Regions from separate parts of the Homo sapiens genome. Here region 1 is linked to region 2. The links are contacts of gene promoters, found by promoter capture Hi-C in blood cells and fetal thymus (Javierre and others, 2016). All regions are on one chromosome and are shown on one strand. Each heading gives the region's core, a stretch centred on a gene start or on the middle of the fragment in contact. The rest is flanking DNA. Distances are from core to core; before and after follow the strand shown.

Region 1 (6,129 bases), core at 200-2,699, 720 kb before region 2:
TCTCTACCAAGTAGAAAATTGAAGATGCTATCTAGTGTAAGTCTGAATAATTTTGATGGTCTGCATAATTAGAATTCACTGTGAGAATTAGAGCAGAGACACAGAGGTTCCTTGTGCAAACAGCAGTATCACGCACCTATTTAAAATGCAAGGACTGCTTCTCGGGTTTAAATGCACCTATTTAAAATACATTAGGCCTGTATTAGTGTGATTATATTGGATATTTGTCATAGCTTCAGGGTCTGTGTGATTAGACCCTTAGAAATCAAGTTATTTTAGAAGATTAAACATTTTATGATTTCAGGTAGTTTTTATTTTTTTCATGGATTGGTAGTTACATAAATGGCATTCTGCTTCATTAAGCTATGAGTTTTAGAGATATCTTAGGACAGAAGATAACTTTTAAGTTGGGTTTCGTTTTGTTGGCAGTGTTTAATTCACTTGTGTAGAATCTGGGAACCGAAGCTTTCCTTTAACTTTTCAAGCCATAGCAGCCAGCTTAAGAGAGAATTCTTGTTACATTTGTTAGGTTTACTTAGATATTTTGACATAAATTATATTTTGAGAAATCAGGTCCCTTGTTTGTGACAGGAGGGACTGTGCTAAGGGTAGAGGAATGACTTGTGTCGGCAAGGTTTCATTGGTGCAGATTGATTGATTGATTGATTGATTGATTGATTGAAAAAGGGTCTTGCTCTGTTGCCCATGCTGGCGTGCAGTGGCCTGATTATGGCTCACTGCAGCCTTGACCTCCTGGGCTTAAGCAATCCTTCCCACTCAGCCTCCTGAATAGCTGAGACTTCAGATGTGCACCACAACACCTGGCTAATTTTTTTATTTTTTAGAGACAGGGTCTCTGTGTTGCCCAAGCTGGTCTTGAACTCCTGGCTCAAGCGATCCTCCCACTCTGGCCTCCCAAAGTGTTAAGATTACAGGCATGAGCCACTGCGCCCAGCAGAAACAAATTTAAATGTGAGGTGAGAAAGCTTTCATGTGGGTTCCTGAGAGCCACCGACAGGAAAAGATATATATTAGGGGATGGCCACACAAAACACTGATTGTTTTAAAAATTTAACATTCCACTTAAGAATTGTTTAGTAAATCTAAAAAGCAGCTTTAAATTGTGCCTAAGAACCATATAATAGCTACTATGAAGCAGAGCAGAGGAATGGTGAAGAGAAAAGCCATTTTAAGGTCCAGGGGCTTACAGAGACGCATGGGGTGACCAGGTGGACTCTTGTAAAGCCACATTCCTGTCTTATTTCCTGAGAGTAGCATCACTTTAGGTCTGAAAGCTATGTGGGCATTTTGCGTGAGGGGAGCATTGTTTTCTTGGCGGTTGCCCTGGGAGCCCAGTGCAGGTGAGCTGAGGGCAGAGTCTCCCTTAGGGCAGAGATGCCACTGAAGGTGCACCTCACCTCAAAGATCCCTATCCTGGATTCAGTCAGAATAGCCATGTTATTCTCCTCCTTGTGAACCTCCCGGGGCACCCGGTTGTGTCACAGTGAAGTCTCTCCTATCCCAGAAAGCCTTCCCTGACCCCAGACGGAACAGACCCTTTAATCCACTCTACAGCCCTGTTCTTTGTTCATCACTCCAGGACCTAACTGCCTGTTACTTGGCTTTATTCAGATCCCCTCTGGCCAGCATACAGAGTGCCCCAAAAAATACATTTAGAAAAGAGTGAAGAATTTCCTTTCTTCATTCCTTTTGGATTAGTCACAAGAAATGTTAGGCTATTACAGGTTACAGCCTCGCAACACCGCAGTAGCTAAGAGCCGGGACTCAAGTCACCCTCCCTGGGTTTGCATCCCAGCACTTGCTGGGTGTGCTACTGACCTCAGACGACTTAGTAACCTCCCTTCCTGCTTAAGTGGGCAAATAGCAGATGCCACCGACCTCAGGCGTGTTACAAGCTTAGATGACAGCACCCTGTCGAGACCATGGCTCATAATGAGCTCTCACTGTAAGTTGACCTTGACAGTTAATGTTGGATTACACCTGGACTTGGTACCGCGCTGTGGTATCCACCACCGTTCGGAGGGTTTAAGGGAGCAGAGAAGGACAGGCTGATGAACACAACATCGTTCATGTTTGGTTGCCCCTGGAACATAGAGACTCATTGTTGAAGGCAAAGGACAGATCTAATCCTTGTGATGATCTATCAGTGGACTGCCCAGCAGCCCTAGGGGACGGCAGGGCCTTCAGCCAGAAAGAATTCCCTGTAAAGTATCTTTCCTACGATTATAGTTTGACTTACTGCCACCGAGTTTTATTTTTAAAAATACTGCTTCTATTTCATACCAAAGTGGAGAGTCTTTTCTGAACCGATATGTTAGACAGTTATTGTGTTGAGTTATGCTTCAAAGAATGCAGTTTAACCTTGAGCTAATTCTAATTTAGCAGTAGCAAGGATTGTGACACTGGGTTCTACTGTACCTCATTAGCCATTTTCACAGGGATTCGTTTTGCCAGAAAAAGGAGGTAGAAATGTTCGCCGGTTCCTAGGAAATTTGGTGAGCAAATATGGAAAGTATTTCCAGATTATTGATGTGTCTTCACTAGTCCTGAGCAAGCTATCAGCTTTGATCATCACCACCACCGATGAAGCAACCTTCCTGGGGAGGCCATGCTGAGCCCGAGTCTATGGGGACCTCTTCTGGCTCCAGACCCAGGCTGGGCAGAGGCTGAGACTTCAGCTGGGTGTCAGATACCCCTCACCCCTTGCCCTGATCTTGGGGGCGTTAGGGTGCTGTCAGAGTCTGACATAGGTATTAAAATATTTCAAATCTCAAGGAGAACTTCAGAGTTCTTCAGTACATTTACAAGTAAATTGTAATCCTGGGAAACTAGCAGCACACTTCCTGTTATTCTGGCTTCTTAAATTCTTTTGTTTTTTGTTTGTTTTTGAGATGGAGTCTCTCTCTGTTACCCAGGCTGGAGTGCAATGGCGCGGTCTCGGCTCACTGCAGCCTCTGCCTCCTGAGTTCAAGCTATTCTCCTGCCTCAGCCTCCTGAGTAGCTGGGATTACAGGCACCTGCCACCATGCCCAGCTAATTTTTTGTATTTTTAGTAGAGACGGGGTTTCACCATGTTGGCTAGGCTGGTCTCAAACTCCTGACCTCGTGATCCACCCGCCTGGGCCTCCCAAAGCCCTGGGATTACAGGCATGAGCCACCGCGCCTGGCCTTTAAGTTGTTTTTTAACTTTTTTCCATGATTCCTTAGTAAAGTCTCCTTAAAATGATTCTTGGGAGAGCAGAGGGCAAGGGGCAGTGTCAGTTACACCTGACTAAGTTACTTCAGTTCAGGTGCACTTCGTACAAAGTGTGGTGGGATGTCCATGTCCTAATCCCTGGAATGTGTGACTGTGTTACCTGGGGTAAGTTTAAGCTGTGTTTAAGTTCAGGATCTTGAGATAGAGAGATTGTCTTGGATCACCTGGGTGGGCTTAATGTAATCACAGGTGTCCTGGGCAGGAGGGAAGCAGAGGTTGGAGTGATGTACTCTGAAGAGGGCGGAAGGGGCCACAGGCCAAAGATCGCAGGCAGTCTCTAGAGCTGGAAAAGCCAAGGAAACGGATTCTCCCCTGGAGTCTCCAGAAAGAACACAGGCCATGATTTTAGCCCAGTGAAAGTCATTTTAGACTTCTGACCTCCTGCCCTGTAAGATTAAAAATTGGTGTTAAGCCACTAAGCTTGTCATTTGTTACAGCGGCAAAAGGAGACTAATACACCTGGCTGCCTGGATTTTATGGTGGATGCTTACTTGGTATAAGCAGACAGGGGGAAGGGTCAAACAATTATTGAGCATTTAGATCCGTAATTTGTTTCTCACCAAAGATCTGCAAATGTGGGATATTCTCTCTTCCTTTCAGATGATGACACAGAGACTGGGAGGGGGTCAGGTTACTTGTCCAAGGTCACTACCTGGTGGAATTTGAGCTGTGATCAGATCCATATTGTAGCACCCTTCGGAGGGCCGGCTCAGTGAGTGCAGCCGCTTAGTGCAGCTCTGGCTGTGGTGTCCAGAGTGTTCGCCCTGCAGCCCTGAGAAGAACTGAATTTGAGCTTCAGTTGCCTGTTGAAAGAGCCAGGGAGGCCAGGAATTTTGGAAGTTGCCCCTGGCCATCCACTATCAAGTATGTGAAGGAAGCAGAGGGTCCCACCTCTGAGGTCAGACAAATGGAAGGTGAATGCAAATGATGCCTCCTTGCAAATGATGCCAGGGAAAGCCTCCTGGGCCCCGTGTGTTGTGCGGACAGGTGGCCAGGCCAGAGGTCCCACTGGACTTCACTCTGAAATTCCAGACAGCAGGAAGTAAACAAAGTGCTTTACGAGCGAGTTCCCGCGGTCTGCTGGTCTTTCCCTGCACTTCCGTCCGACCTCGGTCACAGCCCTGGGTGGGGTCAGATATTTCTACCCATACTCAGGGCCACCTGTTGCCCCAAGTTCTCACTTCCTGGCAGTGTCCCTCTGCTAGCCCTTGCTGCTGCCCCCACCTTCCTCTGTCTGCCCGCCACCCCCCAGCCTTTTCCTTGGTCACAGTTGTCCTTTTGTTACCTGCGGTTATCAGAAACATGGTCAAATAGGGTATAAGCTTTTAGTATCCCATTCATTTGAAATTTTAACCTCGTTTTTAATAAAACAATGCATGCATATAATTAGTCAAATGATACTTTAAAAACTACAGTAATAATGAAAAACAGCACTCTCCTGCCTTTTGATCCATGGGTCCTGCTCTCTATAGGAAACAAATTTCCATTTCTTAAGCAGTTTCTTCTGTTTCCCTCCATATTTCATTTTCCTTTCTCTTCCTTTCTTTTTTTGTTTTGTTTTGTTTTTTGAGACAGGGTCTCACTCTGTTGCCCAGGCTGGAGTGCAGTGGTGCAATCACGATTCACTGTAACCTCGACTTCCCAGGCTCAGGCGATTCTCCCACCTCAGCCTCTCAAGTAGCTGGGAATACATGTGTGTGCCACTACGCTCAGCTAATTTTTTGTATTTTTAGAAGAGATGGGGTCTCACTGTGTTGCCAGGCTAGCCTCAAACTCCTAGGCTCAAGAGATCCACCCACCTGCTGGGTGGACCCCAAAATGCTGGGATTACAGGCGTGAGCCACTGCACCTAGCCAATATTTTTTAATGTGCTTATATTGCTATTTCTTTGCTAATAAATCAGATATTATCTAATCTCTTTGCCATTTTGATAGATAAGAATGCTCTCATATAATCATCAATCTACCCTACTTCTCACTGTTCCCTATACAATTAGCGCAATCATCAGTCTTTACATTATTATTGACAATATATATGTTAGTGAAATAAATATATATAAATAAGCAAATGCTGTATTCCTTTTTTTAACTTTTATCTCCATTTATTAAAAATTGCCTTTTTTTAGTTGTTTATTTTCTATTTGATTATTTTGTATTGGATTTTTATACAGTGCACAGGCATCTGCCAAATACCTGTCAATAAAGTTTTTCAACAGAAGCATCAGATAACTCATAGTAGCCCTTGCCCCCTGCCAAGCTCCCTCCTGGAATCCTCCACCCTCCAGCTGCCCTCTGATGTCTATCATCATCCTTGCTCTTCCTGTGTTGAGTTTTCTGTTCCCTGTGTCCCGCATCTTGGTCTTTGTGCTTTATTCCTTTGCTCTGCTGGAGCACATCCTGCCAAAGCTTCCTAAAGAAGATGCATGGGTGGTTCACTTTTTGAGACCAGGTCGTTGGAAAAGGTTTCCTTACTCCCATACTGTTACACAACTTGGGTCTGCCTGCTCAGCACAGTAAGACCAGATATCCACACTGAGGCTTCGCAGCAGTAGAAAGGAAGCCATTTATTTGCAGGGCACCATGCAGGGAGGACCAGGAAGCAAATGCTCAAATCCTGACTCCCCTGATGGCTTGTGGGTAAGGGTTTTTAGAGGTGGGGTACATTTCAGGAAAGTGGAAGCTACAGGCATAATCATGAATCAATACATAGAGATTACACATTGGTTTTGGCCTTGAAGGGTGGGATATTGTGAAGGAGGGGTGGGGCTTACAGGTAGGTTCAAAGATGTTCTGATTTGCAATTGGTTAAGGAAGAGAAGCTTTGTTTCCAACTTTGGGGTCCGTAGAAAAGAA
Region 2 (6,578 bases), core at 2,208-4,707:
CCTGTCTTCAGCCCAGGGAAACAGATTTAGGATTTCTGGCCTCCAGAACTGTTAGAGGATACATTTGTGTTTTGTTTTGCTTTGTTTGCTTTGCTTTGCTTTGCTTTTTTGAGATGGGGTCTCGCTCTGTCACCCAGGCTGGAGTGCACTGGCACAATCACGGCTCACTGCAGCCTCAACTTCCCAGACTCAAGGGATCCTCCCACCTCAGCCTCCTGTAGCTGAGACTACAGGTGTGCACCACCATGCCTGGCTAACTTTTCTATTTTTTGTAGAGATGGTGTCTTCCTGCATTGCCTAGGCTGGTCTCAAACTCAAGGGCTCAAGTGATCCTCCACTTTGGTCTCCCATAGTGCTAGGATTATAGGCGTGGCCACTGCGCCTGGCCCCATTTGTATTTTAAGCCACCGAGTTTCTGGTAATTTGTCATAGCAGCAGCAGGAAACAAATAACAAGTATCGGGTAATGGCCTCTCTTATTACACTTCCATTTGTCTATTCAAAGCTTTCTAGGCTAACTGCCAGGAATACAGGGATGGTATAGCTAGAAGTTCTATATTCAAGGAACTTACATACATCTAAATATTATAATATAAAAAATGAAATGAGAAATTGCATGAACACACCACGGATCCAGCATCTTGCGCCTTCAGCGAGAAAGGGGATGGGTTCCCTCTCAGGTTAGCAGAGAAGACGCTGTGAAGGGAGTCAGCCGTGAGCCTGGTTTCCACAAAGGGTGCAATCTGGATACGTGGAGACAGGGAGGAAGGGCTGGCAGAGGCGGGAAAGGGTGAGCTGCTCACAAAAGAATGCTTGTGCATGCTCTTATTGAACGTGTAATGCATTGGTGCGGGTCTTGCTATGAGAGACCCAACGGTGAGCCTAACGGTGTCTCTACCCTCCAGGGGCTCACAGCAACCAGGACAATAATTAAGGGATTGTCATAGAGCAGGATGCCCGCCACCATCAGGGTGAGGGGTGCCGTGAGAACCAGAGCAGGGCTCCAGTCTGGGTGGCTGGGAGGGATGGTTAGAGAGGGGTTCCTGGAGGAAGAGACACATAAACTGAATCCCAAAAAATGAGAAGCTGGCCAAGCAAAATGGGGGAAAGGAGTGTTCCAGACAGAAGGAACAAAGTAGGCCCAGAGGCAGGTGGGGTTACAGGTTAGGAGGGAGAGGTTGAAGGATGGCAGAGGAGGAGGCGGGTCATGGAGAGAATTGGGGCTGGAGGAGAATGGACAGGCTGGGTCCACCATGGTCAGCTGGCAAAGACAGTTCACCCAGGAAGGATGGTGGGCTCCAGGCAGCTTTGAGGGCCCCATTGAAGCTGGAAAGCGTGGCTGTGTTGTGTGAATTTACTCTGATAATGCTCGACAGACCCAGGAAAGGATTGCTCTGGAGTAGGGTTTAGCCAGATAGACGGCCATACGTCATGGGAGTTGGGGATCCTGGTCAGACTCGGGGGAATGATGGAGAGGGAAGAAACGAGCACAGGGAGAGAAGGAAGTGAAGTGAGATCAGTGTGTTAAAGGATGGATATAGTGAGAGAACCTGGGTGACAGCAAGAAACAGAAGAAGAGCCAGGCGTGATCTTCTGTACACTGTGAAGGGAATCAGCCGTGAGCCTGGTTTCCACAAAGGGTGCAATCTGTAATCCCAGCACTTTGGGAGGCTGAGACAGGTGGATGGCTTGAGCCCGGGAGTTTGAGACCAGCCTGGGCAACATAGCAAGACCCCGTCTCTACAAAAAATACAAAAATTATCCAGGCGTGGTAGTGCGCACCTGTAGTCCCAGCTACTTGGGAGGCTGAGGCAAGAGGATCATCTGAGCCCAGGAGGTCAGGGCTACAAGCAGTGAGCCAAGATTGTGCCACTGCATTCCAGCCTGGCTGACAGAGTGAGACCCTGTCTCATTAAAAGAGAGAGAGGAAGGCATAGCCACAGAGCAGGAATGTTTGAGTAGAACATTCCAGAGGCAGAGCCATCTCAGGAGATGACAAGGACCAAGTGTATCCCTGGCACCAGGTGGCTGAAGTAGAGGGAAGAAGAAGGAGGTTGGAGACAACATAGAGAATGGAGAGGTCAGGTGGTGGGTGGGCCCTACCTGGGCCCTCACAGGCAGGCGGGACATTGTCAGGCCCTGGGGAGGAGAGAGTCCGTGGGCCAGGAGGCCATTCCAAGGTCAGTTTCCATGGAGTGGGGGAGAGGGTGTAGTGACTGGACTCCAAGACACTTGGGGGAATGGGGAGAATGGCAGTCCCCACAGCTGCACGGGAAGGGCTGGTCCTCACAGAATAGCAGCAAAGACTCATTCATTCCAGGAATGGAAAGAATGCCATGTTCTTGGAGCCTGGAGACAGGGTTTGAGAGGCTGGCAGCGGCTGGGCCACCAGGACCTCATCAGTGATAACCCTGTGATCAGTGTTCCAGCCCCTGCAGGTTTCCTGGAGAGCAGAGTGTCGTCAGAAGGCCTGGAGCTGAGCCAACAGGCAAGATCCAGCCTGCACATGTGTTTAATTTGAACCACATGGTATTTTTTAAAACTCCAAGCCCCCAGGCTCTTGAGTTGGTTACCAGTACTGAAACTCCCCATTGGGAGCCAGCTTTCCAGTTTCTTTTGAAAGTTTGGAACATCCAGCAACACTGATTCAATTTCATTCATTCAGCAGATATTTATTAAGCATCTACTTTGTCAGACACTGTTTTGGGCACTGAAAATATGGCAGTGAACAAAAGAGAGGAACATCCCTGGGCCCTTGGAGTTGACCTTCCAGGGTCCCCCCGGGGCTCCAATTCTTTGGTGCTGTGTAGCAGAGGCCCCGTGAACAGGGCGCCCTCCCATCAGGTTCACACGCATGGAAGCTATGGGAGGTTAAGTTTGCAACCCCTCATCCAGACCATCCCTTCACATACAGTCTAGGAAACAGAGAGCAGTAAGACCTGCCCAAGCACACCCAGTGCGACTCAGCAGCCACACACAGGAGTAGGCTCAGTCATCTCATTTAATCGCCTGACTCCCTTGTGAGGTCTGTTTCAGGATGTCCACTTTCTAGGTGAGGAAGAGGAGGCTAAGGAAGGCAGTGCCTGCTCAGACTGCAGAGGCTGGATTCACCCAACTCATCTGACTCCAACACCAATGTGATTTCCAAGCCCCCAGGCAGGAATTCATTGGGCAAAGGCTCTGTGGCAAAGTGGCAAAAGTAGGCAGGAACAGGCAGGAATAGAGAGTGGGAAAGGGAAAATAATACCTGATTCCTCTTCTATTCCGAGTGAGCTGACCCACATATGCCCTCCTTTCTTCTTTTTCAGCCGGCCTTAAGCAGGTGGCTTATCAAAATCCTTTCGAGGTCTTGCAAAAACCAATCCCACACTCGAGAAGAACGTGCTGGCCGGTGAAATCGGACAACATTGCTCACGGGATGTAATTCAATGGTAGACTGCAGCCACAGCCTGAGAACTCAGACACCTGATTTATGAGACGCACATAAGTAACGTTTACCGAAGCCCAGCAAATGGCCCCACAGTGGGAGAGAAACTGGCAAACCCGTACAGTAGAATTCTGTTGCCCTTCTGTGGGGAAGGCCAGTTATTCATTTACAGAGGGAGAAATTTCTGCCTTGACTAAAAGGATCGATGCTGTGGGAAAAGGTAATATATCTGAGTTCCCATGGATCTGGTTGATAGGTTCACCTGGCGTGTTCCATATGGGGCCAGGCCCAGGCCACACCTGTGGTGCTAACACCTGGGGTGGAGGGAGGAATTAGCAAATAGTCTTCCAGCATCCCCAGCTCCAGCACCCATGTGGGCTTCCACTCTCTCCCTGAGAAGGGCCAAGTAGAAAGAGAGAACAAGGTTTCACTCCAATCCGTTCCCAGCTCTGGGTCTGTCCTGGGCTCCAGAACCGCGTGATCAGGGGCCATATGTGGCCTTCACTGCTCTCTGCAGTGGGAAGGTAAGAAAACTGCCCCCACCCTGCCCCATCATCACCCCAATCCATCATGGGGAGTGGGTGGCACTAAGGCCCTCCAAATCCCAGCCTCGGGGAAACTCCCTGATGTTGCAATGGCCACAGGCAGGCTCTTGCTCTCCGGAGATGAGTCACAAATTTGATGAGGAGCAGGTCGGAAGCAGCCCTGGAAAGTGTTCCTCCCCACCCCTGCTCCCACCACAGCTCCGAGGAGCCTGGGCATCCAACCAGGGCTGATCCAAGCCTTGGCTCCGGCTGAGCTCCGCTCTGGCCTCTGTGCACCTTCAGCTCCTTCCTGCCCTTCTCTTTCCCTGTGCCCAGCCCCTTTCTCCAGACCCCCTTGATTCCTTCTCAGCATCCTCTTGCCTCCCCGGACCACCCCCAGCTCAGGCCCCTGCCCAAGAAGGGCCTCACCGCGGGGCTGCAGAGTGCACAGTGCAGCCGGTCAGAGGTCCAGGTCTCTGAGTCACACATGCCACTGTTCCAGTCCTCACTCCACCACCGCATGGGCCTGGCCGACCACCGAAACTCGGCATCCCATCTGTAAAATGGGAATGAGGAGAGCAGTGCCTCACTGTGTCGTTGTGAAAATTAAGTGACCCAAAAGGACGGCCTTATTCCCTTTTTGGAAAGAGGTAATGGGCAAAGAAAGGGAAGGAAAGGCGAGAAAGGACAAGAGGAAGGTCAGAGATGTATGTGAGACACCAGGACAGCGCCACCCCAGCAAGCACCAACAACCATTTTCTCCTATGAGCAGAAGAGGCTTTAACTATGACTGAAATGAATGCATGTCAAAGCACAGTCTGAATAAAATCCCAAAAATGGTGTCCGTGTCACTCTCCTGGTTGTGATATGGCACGATCCTTGTGTAAGATGTTACTATTGGGGGAAACTGAGTAAAGAATAATGGGGCCGGGCACAGTGCTCATGCCTATAATCCCAGCACTTTGGGAGGCCGAGACAGGCAGATCACATGAGCCCAGGAGTTCAAAGACCAGCCCAGGCAACATGGTGAAACCCTGTCTCTAGTAAAAATACAAAAATTAGCCAGGCATGGGGGTGCACACCTGTAGTATCAGGTACTTGGGAGAATGTGGTGGGAAAATCAGTAGAGCCCAGGGTTCAAGGCTGCAGTGAGCCATGATTGTGCCATTGCACTCCAGCCTGGGCAATAAAGTGAGACCCTGTCTCAGAAAAAAAAAAAAAAAAAGAATGAGTACAAGGCATCTTTCTTATCACTGTATGCAAATCTACTAAAAACCTTAAAAAGAATGCATCATTAAGTTCAACCACTCTGCCTTACAGATGAAGAAACCAAGGTCCAGAGACAAGCAGACTTGTCCAAGGTCACCGAGTAAGCAGGGCTCCTGCTGAAGGGCTCTGTTCAGACCCAAGATGCCCGCTGGGCCCTGGTGACAGGTCTCAGTCTCAGGCTGAGGTCAGAGAAGAGGCCTGAGTGCCAGGGTTCTCATTTGAGTGGCCATGATGATTGCAGAGACTCCCTATGGCCAGGATTGTGTTTAAGGCAGTAAACAGGAAGCCAAGCCTACTTTTCAGGAGCTTCAGGGGACAGAAAACTATCAGGAAGGATTGGTTGGGACCCAGCAAGTACGAGAGGAAGACATTTCAGGGCTTCAGTCAACAAGGGGCTCAGTGTACTGTAGCTGCCAAAATAGCTGCCAGCTCTCAGCTGCATTCAAAGGAGTATAGCCTCTAAAATGAGGAAGGTCATATTCCCTTAATTTAGCACTGGACAGGGTCCATTAGGAGTATTGTGTCCAGCTCTTGGCTGATTCCAAAGACAGGGATCAGACTGGTGAGAGGATGCAACAGCACACCCTCCAGACACATGGCGGCAGAGGGCTTACCACAGAAGATAAGACTTATGTGGAGAGAGGAACAAATGCACTTAGTGTTACCCCAAAGGGACCAAAGAGAAAAAAATCCTGAGAAACACTTTCTGTCTTAATTTAAGGATGGGCTCTTTGACAGGCAGAGCTGTCCCATGATAGAACTGATGGCCCTCAATGACGTGGGTTCCTGGTCTCTGGAGGAGCCCAGCGAAGCTGCAGGATCTCTTGGCAGGAGGCTGCAACAAGAATCCAGGAAGCATCTACTGCACACTCACCCTTGAGGAGCTCACTGCATGTAAGGGAGGCAGAAAAGAAAAGAGATCATTCCTCAGTGTGAGATGTCTCGTCATGGGGTGACGAAGTCTGCTGCAAGGAGTTCCAGAAGGAAAGGGGGTTCCTTGAGCTGGATCTTAAAGTTAAGTAGGACAATGAGAGTGTTGGCCACCTGCAACTTTTCCCTCACGCGAGTTCTCAGCCAACAAAATCAAGGGCTGGAAGATGTATGCCAATCCCAAGGAGTGACTGTTGTCCTCTGGGCCATGTGAGTCAGTGAAGACTGAACAAGGAAGTGGCATGTTTGGAACTGCATTTCAGAGAGATCACTTTCACTAGAATATGGATGATGGCTTGCACAGTGTATCAGTTATCTATGTTGCATAAAAAACCACTCCCACACTTAGTGGTTTAAAACAACCACCTCAACTCATAATTCTGTAATTGGCCATTTGGGCTGGGTTTAGCCGGGTGGTTCTTCTACTGG

The links. Contacts are between HindIII fragments. The CHiCAGO score rates a contact against its expected background, and 5 or more counts as called.
Region 1: a fragment that was not itself captured here is called in contact with the fragment with the promoter of BDKRB1-AS1 in region 2 in 1 of 17 cell types (endothelial precursors); the score reaches 5.8 in endothelial precursors.

What each region holds. Positions count from the first base shown.
Region 1 is chr14:95,546,111-95,552,239 of GRCh38, forward strand. No RefSeq gene overlaps it. Among named protein-coding and RNA genes, the nearest start is that of GLRX5, 14 kb to the left of the region's middle. RefSeq lists an enhancer at 1,673-2,548. The HindIII fragment of the contact is 930 bases long and covers 985-1,914 here.
Region 2 is chr14:96,265,123-96,271,700 of GRCh38, forward strand. BDKRB1-AS1 (BDKRB1 antisense RNA 1) reads right to left here and starts at 3,458. Exons shown (of 2, transcript XR_007064322.1): 1 at 3,247-3,458. RefSeq lists an enhancer at 3,533-4,732. The HindIII fragment of the contact is 7,907 bases long and covers 503-6,578 here.